Linked DNA regions of Homo sapiens: region 1 is linked to region 2. The links are contacts of gene promoters, found by promoter capture Hi-C in human tissues and cell types (Jung and others, 2019). All regions are on one chromosome and are shown on one strand. The core of a region is centred on a gene start or on the middle of the fragment in contact, and the rest is flanking DNA. Distances in the headings are between cores, read along the strand shown. Region 1 has its middle 56 kb from the start of DCT. Region 2 holds the start of SOX21 (SRY-box transcription factor 21).

Evidence for each region. Contacts are between HindIII fragments. The study calls those that stand out against the background at their distance.
Region 1: a fragment that was not itself captured here is called in contact with the fragment with the promoter of SOX21 in region 2 in 1 of the 25 tissues and cell types used here (lymphoblastoid cells).

Annotation. Positions count from the first base shown.
Region 1 is chr13:94,421,170-94,425,312 of GRCh38, forward strand. No RefSeq gene overlaps it. Among named protein-coding and RNA genes, the nearest start is that of DCT, 56 kb to the right of the region's middle. The HindIII fragment of the contact is 3,916 bases long and covers 1-3,801 here.
Region 2 is chr13:94,710,951-94,715,033 of GRCh38, forward strand. It overlaps SOX21 (SRY-box transcription factor 21), which reads right to left and starts at 1,595. Exons shown (of 1, transcript NM_007084.4): 1 at 1-1,595. The coding sequence starts at 1,099. The coding sequence ends at 269. SOX21-AS1 (SOX21 antisense RNA 1) reads left to right here and starts at 1,766. Exons shown (of 2, transcript NR_046514.1): 1 at 1,766-2,443; 2 at 2,688-4,083. LOC112268114 (a long non-coding RNA gene) reads right to left here and starts at 2,493. Exons shown (of 2, transcript NR_158368.1): 1 at 2,458-2,493; 2 at 1,770-2,312. RefSeq lists an enhancer at 2,319-2,820. The HindIII fragment of the contact is 11,141 bases long and covers 1-4,083 here.

The sequences.
Region 1 (4,143 bases), core at 594-3,093, 290 kb before region 2:
GATGCAATTGCCTTCATCTGATCCCACCCTTGACATGAGGCTATTGTGGACATTATAATTCCAGGTGAGATTTGGGTGGGGACACAGAGCCAAAACATATCAGGGAAGAATTCCTCAAGTGAAACCATATCACTAACCAACAGAAAATAGCAAAGGTAAAAGCAAGTACATGAGGTGTGTGAATTATGAAATTATGTTATATAAGACTGTGATACTTATCTTGCCAAAAGTTTCTCCCCCTTGCTAGCTTTAAAGAAACAAGCAAAAATGTTGGTAAGGCCCAGTAGCATCCAGATGACAAACAGCAAGTAACTGAGGCCTTCAGTCAAACAGGCCACTGGAACTGAATGCTGCCAATAACCATGTGAGCTGGGAAGCAGACCCTTCCCCAGTCCAGCCTCTGATGAGACATCAGCCCTGGCTGCTGCCTTCATTGCAGCCTTGTGAGACCCTGAGCAGAAAATCCAGCTATTCTGTGCCTGGATTCCAGACCCACAGAAACTGTGAGATAATAAATGTTTGTTGTTTTGCACCTTCAAGTTTGTGTCCATTTGTTACACAGCATCAATAATCAATACATGTGTACAGTACTTTATAAAGTTCAAGTTGACTTTTGGGTCATTTAACTTTCCTCCCCATTTTACCTTTTCTTCAAACCCTGCTTTCTTTCCCTGAAGGCATATAAAGTCCTAAATCAAGAGTCTAGTAAGAACCCACCACATCTTTCATTAATGCTTGAAACATAATCATAATATCTTTCAGAATTTTTTAAAAAATTATATGATAGTGTATGAAGGGGAAGGAGAGGTTCTGTTAAATATTTTCAGGGGCAAAATGGAGGAGACGACTCATTTCTATATATAGATTGAGTAACCCTTATTCAAAATGCTTGGGGTCAGGAGCCAGGGCTCACACCTGTAATTCCAACATTCTGGGAGGTTGAGGCAGGAGGATGACTTGAACTCAGGAGTTCAAAACCAGCCTGGGCAACATAGCAAGACCTCATATCTAGTAAAAATAAAAAAAAAATAGCTGGGCATGGTGGTGCATGCCTGTAGTCCCAGCTACTCAGGAGGCTGAGGTGGGAGGATCGCTTGGGCACAAAAAGTTGAGGCTGCAATGAGCCATGATTGCACCACTGCACTCTAGGCTGGGTGACAGAGTGAGACCCTGTCACAAAAAAAGAAAAAAAAGAAGAAAAGAAAAAAAGGTTGGGACAAGAAGTGTTTCGGATTTCAGATTTTTTCTAATTTTGGAAAACTTGCATATACATAATGAGATAGCTCATGGCGGGGACCTAAGTCTAAACATGATATTCATTTATATTTCATAGACACCTTAAACACATAGTCTGTATGTCCAATAATAATTTCATACAATATGTTTAATATTTTTGTACACGAAACAAAGTTTGTGTACACTGAACCATTTTACCACCATTTGTGGGTGTGCTTGCATAGGAGAATCTGGGTATGTTCAGAAAAGATATATTGCAGCCGAAGGGGGATGGGAGGGTCTTTTTCCTTGGCGTTGCTAAACAAACTATGTGTTGTGCATCTGCATTTTGGTTGCAACCTGTCACACGAGGTCAGGTGTGGAATTGTCCACTGGTAGCATCATGTCGGCACTCAAAAGTTTTCAGATTTTGGAGTATTTCAGATTTGGGATTTTTAGATTTGGGATGCTCAACCTGTTTAAAGCATTCAAGTTGTGTAGTGCCTTTATACCTTAAGAATATTGTTTCTGTTTTCACACCAGGACTAATGAAATTCTCATAACTGAGGGCTAAACAGTAGAGACTGTCCTTTGTTCAAAAGTAATATAAGAGTTCCCAAAAGCTAAGGAGAACTAAGGTTACTTTTGATCTCATGCTTTTCCCTACACTCCTTGAAGCCAAGGCTAGCAAGACCTCGTCTCTACTAAAAATTAAAAAATTAGCTGGGCATGCTGGTATGTGCCCAGCTAATAATATTATTACATATTAAAACCACTTTTGGTAATCCAAGCACTTTGGGAGGCTGAGGTAGGAGGATCACGAGGTCAGGAGACCGAGACCATCCTGGATAACACGGTGAAACCCCGTCTCTACTAAAAATACAAAAAATTAGCCAGGCGTGGTGGCAGGCACCTGTAGTCCCCACTACTCAGGAGGCTGAGGCAGGAGAATGGCGTGAACCTGGGAGGTGGAGCTTGCAGCGAGTCGAGTTTGTGCCACTGCACTCCAGCCTAGGCGACAGAGCGAGACTCGGTCTCAAAAAAAAGAAAAAAAAAAACAAAAACAAAAAAAAACACTTTTGTTTTCCCACTCTCTGAATCCAAAAACAAGCAAAAACACTTTACTCCATCTTTGTGGTTTTTTTGGTTCACAATAAATTACCAAACCATGAATGAAGAGACTGCCCAAAGTTATCAGTGTTCCAAATGACATAATGACATGACCAACTATATGTTATGTGCAAGAAATTTCCCTACCAATGAGTGTATGCGCTTCCCGGAAGGAGGCTCTACTGTTGATTATAGAAGGCGATGCAATCCTAGGTTTAATTTAGCTGCTAAGAAACTCAGAGCTAGATTCAGTGTCCAACTCTGTAACTAAACTGTGCTAGGAACAAAGTATTATTGATTCTTGTGTTCCTTCTGCTTTGTTGTTGTCCTTTTGGTGTTTTTAATTGTTCTCTGTTTTCCATTTTATTTACCTTTGTCAGCCAAAGCTTCTGAGGATAAGTAAGGCAAAAATTGCATGGAAACAAAATGGTCCTCCATTCCTTTTTATCATCAAAAAACATAAATTTCAGATTCACAAACATTAGTTCAGATTCAGTGAATGATCACTGAACCCCTTCTACATGCCAGCAACTTTTTAAATGTTTTCATACATGTTATTAAGTCAATCCTTGCTTAGAAAAGGAATTTAGTCTCAGATCTCTGCCTTTTAGTTCAGTGTTCTGTGTTCTTTCTGTTGTATTACGGAGTTTCTCCTTGTAAGCTTGACAGGGTCTTCAAGATCATTTAATCCCAACACCTCCTTCCCCAATTTTACAGATGGACAAAATAAAGCACTGAGAGGTCACCTTGCCTCACCTTGCTTACCCAAGATCAGCTGCTAGCCAATGGAAAACTTGGGATTAAATGTCCCCAGTCTCCTGTCTCTGGGCCCACAATGTTGGCTCTCCCCAAGCTCTTTGTCTTTCCCTCCTCCTTGCCATTTAATCCTTTCCATTTTCCTGACATCCAGGACCATGTTGTTGATTTCATTACCTCTATCTCAACAATTTGGTGATCACTTCTGGCAGATGAGTTTGCAAACTAGTACTTCCAGCTCTGAACTTCCTCTGGGGTGGCAATTTGCATCTATAATTCCCTAAAGGTCACTGAATAAAATAATTTAAACTGTTATTATTTATTTATTCAATTATCCAAATAATATATATATTATATAGTATAATATATATAATCTATACTATATATTATATAGTATAATATATTATATAGTATATTATAATATATATTATATATTATATAATATATAATATAATATAATAAGTGATTTCTATGTGCCAGGCACTGTTCTGGGCATTGTATTCATGATACTTACTTTATGTGTGGGAGACAGACAATAAACAAAATGAATAAGGAAAGGGATAGGATGTTAGATAATGTTAAGTGTTAAAGGGAAAAACAAATGAGAGAGAGGGATATGAAGTGCCAAGGTGGGGAATTGAAATTGTACGCAGGGTGGTCGGGAAAGACCCCACCAAGAAGGTAGCTTTTGGGTAAAATCATGAGAGAAGTAAAAGAGCAAGCATGCCTGTGTCAGGGAGAAAAGTATTCCAGAGAGAGAGAACAGTATGTGCAAATGCCCTGAGACATAACATGCTATTGAGGAACAGCTAGGAAACCGGCATGACTGGCATGGCGTGAGCAAGACAGCGGGAGTTGTAGGAATGAATTCAGAGAGGGAAGAAGAGAGGTAGATCGCATGGGTCTTTTAAGTCATTGTAAGGTTTTGGCTTTTCCTTGAGTGAGGGGGGCATAGCTGGGGGGTTTTAATGGGGAGTGACAGGATGACTTCTGCTGCTGAGGGAGGCTGTGTGAGGACAAGGGCAGAGGCAGGATCTGCTTAGGAGGCAATTACAGTTGTCC
Region 2 (4,083 bases), core at 345-2,844:
CCGCACACAACCGCCTGCTTTCGAGTTGGCTGCCGAAGTGCGGGTCTGAAATGATCCTGCGAATTCACAGGCCTGCTCGCCCGCGCCCTTGCGCGCTTGGCCACTCCTGCCCCGCCTGGCCTCTCTGCCTCTACCTGGCACCTATACATTCTATGTACATACAAACCGGGCCCCCGGTCGCGGGAGGGCGCACGGGGAGGCCGCAGCGCTCGTACCTATACATATGTACACGTGTGCACACCGGTCCTCGCGAGGCGGCCCCGCGGGGTCATAGCGCGGCAGCGTAGGCCGCGGGGTAGGGGTCCAGCTGGGGCTTGCCCATGCCCGGCAGCAGGATGTAGGCGAGCGGCGGCTGCAGCCCGGGGCTGGGCCACGCGCTGCAGTTGCACGGGATCATGTAGCCCGGGTTGCCCGGGCTGGGGTGCGAGTGCGTGTGCCCCCCGGCGGCGGCGGCCGCCGCTGCAGCCGCCGCCGCCGCGCCGTGGAAGGCGCCCGCGCCCGCGGTCGGGTAGCCCAGCGACGACGCGTACGGGAGGCCGGACGAGGACGACGAGATCTCTGCCATTTTGGAGCCCAGGTCGAGCAGCGAGTAGGGGCTGCCCGCGGCGGCGGCGGCGGCGGCAGCGGCGGCGGCAGCGGCCGACTGCGGGAAGAAGACGCGTGCGGCGGCAGCGGCGGCGGCCGCGGCCGCCTTCTCGGGATTGGCGAGCAGCGACTCAGGCACCAGGCCGCCGCCCGCCCCCGCGTGCAGCCCGGCGCCCGCCTTGAGCGCAGGGTGCTCGGCGTCCGCCACGCCGCCCAGGCCGTAGGGCACCGGGAAGGCGAACTTGTCCTTCTTGAGCAGCGTCTTGGGCTTGCGCCGCGGCCGGTACTTGTAGTCGGGGTGCTCCTTCATGTGCATGGCGCGTAGACGCTTGGCCTCGTCGATGAACGGCCGCTTCTCCGACTCTGTGAGCAGTTTCCACTCGGCGCCCAAGCGCTTGCTGATCTCCGAGTTGTGCATCTTGGGGTTCTCCTGGGCCATCTTGCGCCGCTGAGCCCGCGACCACACCATGAAGGCGTTCATGGGCCGCTTGACGTGGTCCACCGGCTTGGACATGCTCTCGCCCTGCCGCGGCTGCAGCCCGCCGCCTCCCGGGCCCTCGCCCTCGGCCCGGAGGAAATCAATGTTGGCTGCCCGCGGAGACCCGCTCGGCCGGCCGGGGCTCGTCGCGCCCCGGCGTCGCTCCCGCCCCGGAGGAGGGGGCTGGGGGACCAGCCCAGGGCCACGCCGCGCCCCGGGCCGCCTTAGTGTCTCCGGCCGAGCGCTCGAGCAGGTTGTCTCTGGGACACTCTAACTTCTCGGCGGTGCCCCCTCCCCGCGGCGGCAGTTTGCCCTTTACGTTCTTTGGGTCCTTCGTCTGCAGTGGCGTTTGCTGGTGAGCTCCCCGCAGGTAGCGGCGGCCGGGCAGAGCGCTCCTCCTCCTCGGTCGTTCTCTCTTAAATGCAAAGCGTCCCCAAAAGTTGCGTCGCGGAGACTCCTCGAAGTTGAGCCGAGGAGCCCGCCGCCGCGTGCTGCCAAGTGCCAAAGGGGGCTCTCAGCGGCTGGAGTGTTTGGGTTCTCCTCGGTGACTTTCTCATTTGACAGAAGCAGATGGGGGTGGGGAAGGCGGGGAGGTGGCCCTGGAGGAGGAAGAGGAGGGGGAGGCGGAGGAGTGTCCAGGCGTGCCACGAGAACGCAGAGCGCAGCAATGGATATAAATACAAATACAGCAGCACCAGCCTGTCTTCTTGGCTCCGGGCAGGGTGCGCCGATGGGAAACCCCCAATCGGCTGGGTGATTTTTTTTTTTTGGAGGGGGGAGCTGTCCCCCGCAGCACCTGCCTCTCGAGTCTTCCTCTCCCGCTGCTGGACTGACGGGTGGGGCGAGGAAGGAGGGTGGATGAGGCTTGAGCAAGCGTTGGTCGCCCGGCCTCAGAGGAAGTTCTCCCGGCTCGCCGAGGAGCCGCGTCCGGCCGTCCCCTGGGCCATGCCGGCTCTGTTCGCTCCGAGCCCCTTCAGGCGCGCCTGCCGACTTAGGGCTCCCGGAGCTCGCCGGCCGCGGAGGGCAGCGCAGCCTCCACGCGGCGCCGCAGGCCTGGCACCGGCCGCGTCCCCGCCTCGCTCTTCTCGGCAGCCGCCTGGCACTTGCAACTAACTTCGCCCAAGTTTCCTGCGCCGCGGCGCCCCTCTCGGCGCGCTCCTGGGAGCGTGCGCCCGCGAGTCCGCCGCGCCCGGGGCCCCTCTGTCCTCGCTGCTGTGGCCAGAGCCGAGCCGGCGCAGGGGCGGAGGTGCTGCAGGAGAGTTAAGGAAAACGGGCCATCACCTCAGTTCGCAGGTCCGCGCTGTGGCACCTCCCGCTCTCCCCACTCCCGCGGCGCAGGGGGCCCCTTCCCAGCCCAGGCCGCCCTCTGCACCGGCTCAGGTGAGTGTGGCTACCTGCATGTGTGCGCGCCCGGAGCCGGCACTGGGTGTGCATGTCCAGCCGCGGCTGTGTGTGTATATCTGGGGGCCTGCGGAGGAGGTGGAGCCCAGGACTCGGGGAGGGAGGAGGGATCAGCGGAGCCGCCTCCCGCTCCCACACCCCCAGGACCTCGAATTAACAGATCCCCTCCGCCCCCCGCCCCCTCCCAATCCTCCTCCTCCCACTCCTTTTCACTTGAGAGCAGGTTTAGGCGAGTGGAGAGTCCGGAGCGCGCCGGGGAGTCTGCGCCCTGTTTGGCGTTGGCAAACCCTGGTGTCATCCCGGCTACCCAGGCCGGCCTGGCGTGCAGCTGCCCTGGTTGTGGCCCTGGAATCCTCGCCGGGAGGAAGAAGGCGGCGGGCACGAGTAGGAGAGCCTCTCCAGCTACGGAGGAAGAGGGTTAAACCTGGAGAAGGGGAGACTCACCCTTGAAAATGTTTGAGACTGTTCCTAGCAAGAAAGTGCTCATTTTCCTTGGAGGTCCAGGTGTTGCTTGCAACAGAAACAGAGGCTTCTCGCATTTTCTTGCACTGGCGATGCACCTAGTCAGAGGTAGTGGAGTGAAAAATAACTCTGGAGGGAATAAGGACATTCTTGGCAACCTTTCCAAAAAAGAGCTAGCCCAGACTGAGAGTATGCATCCTTGACTGACTATTCAGCTCTTTAAAAATTCTGTGTTGTTTGTCTTTTGTTGTAATCTTGGTCGCCAGAACCATCTATATACTGATCTCTTTAAGGTACAGTTAACTTACAGTGTCTCACTTACATGCGCTGCTGAGGTGAAGGTGTTTAAAATCAATAAGTGTAAGTAGTTTCCCTGGAAGAGAGAAGTAAAACGTACCAATCACTCAGTGCTGGAATATTTTTATGCTAAGCATAATTTCCTTCTTTAGTAGTTAGAGCAGTTTTTTAAAAAAAATAGTTAACACGATGCAGAAGTCAAACAGCATGATTCTGTTTCCGTATTTTCCTCACTTTTTGGTATGCTGCGGCACATTTAGAACATGATCTGTCTGGAGGTTTTATTCACATGGTGGCCTGCCCTTCAGGGAGAACTTGCTTGCCTTCTTTCTTTGGCAGTTTGGATTTGACCTAGCCCTGTGGTATGTGCAAGTAGGAACATCTACAAACGGTTAACTCTTTAAGTCTTCCTACGATTTATGTTCAGTTCATTCACACACACACACACACACACACACACACACACACAAAAGCTTTGATTGTAATTATGAACGTGAATTAAAACTGTTTCAGGCCATCAGATTTATGTAAAAGTTAGGCTTGTTTTGTTCATTTTAATAAAAGAATAGTGACTTAAAAATTACAGTCGTGATAACAAAACTGTGAACAGCAGTGGCATCTATGTGGGTTTTTGTTTTTCTGAAGATGTCGTATTGACAAGCTTATTTTGTATCGGTTATGCCCTTGCATTGTTAAAATAATTGGACTGATTTCTCCAGAACCATATTCCTTTACAGGCTCTGTAAAGACACTCTTGTCATTCACAGACTCTGGCTGGAGCAATGGGAAAACACTAGCATGTGTAATTACATAGACTGGAATATTAAATATACTGTTTTGTGATGATAAACTACAAAATT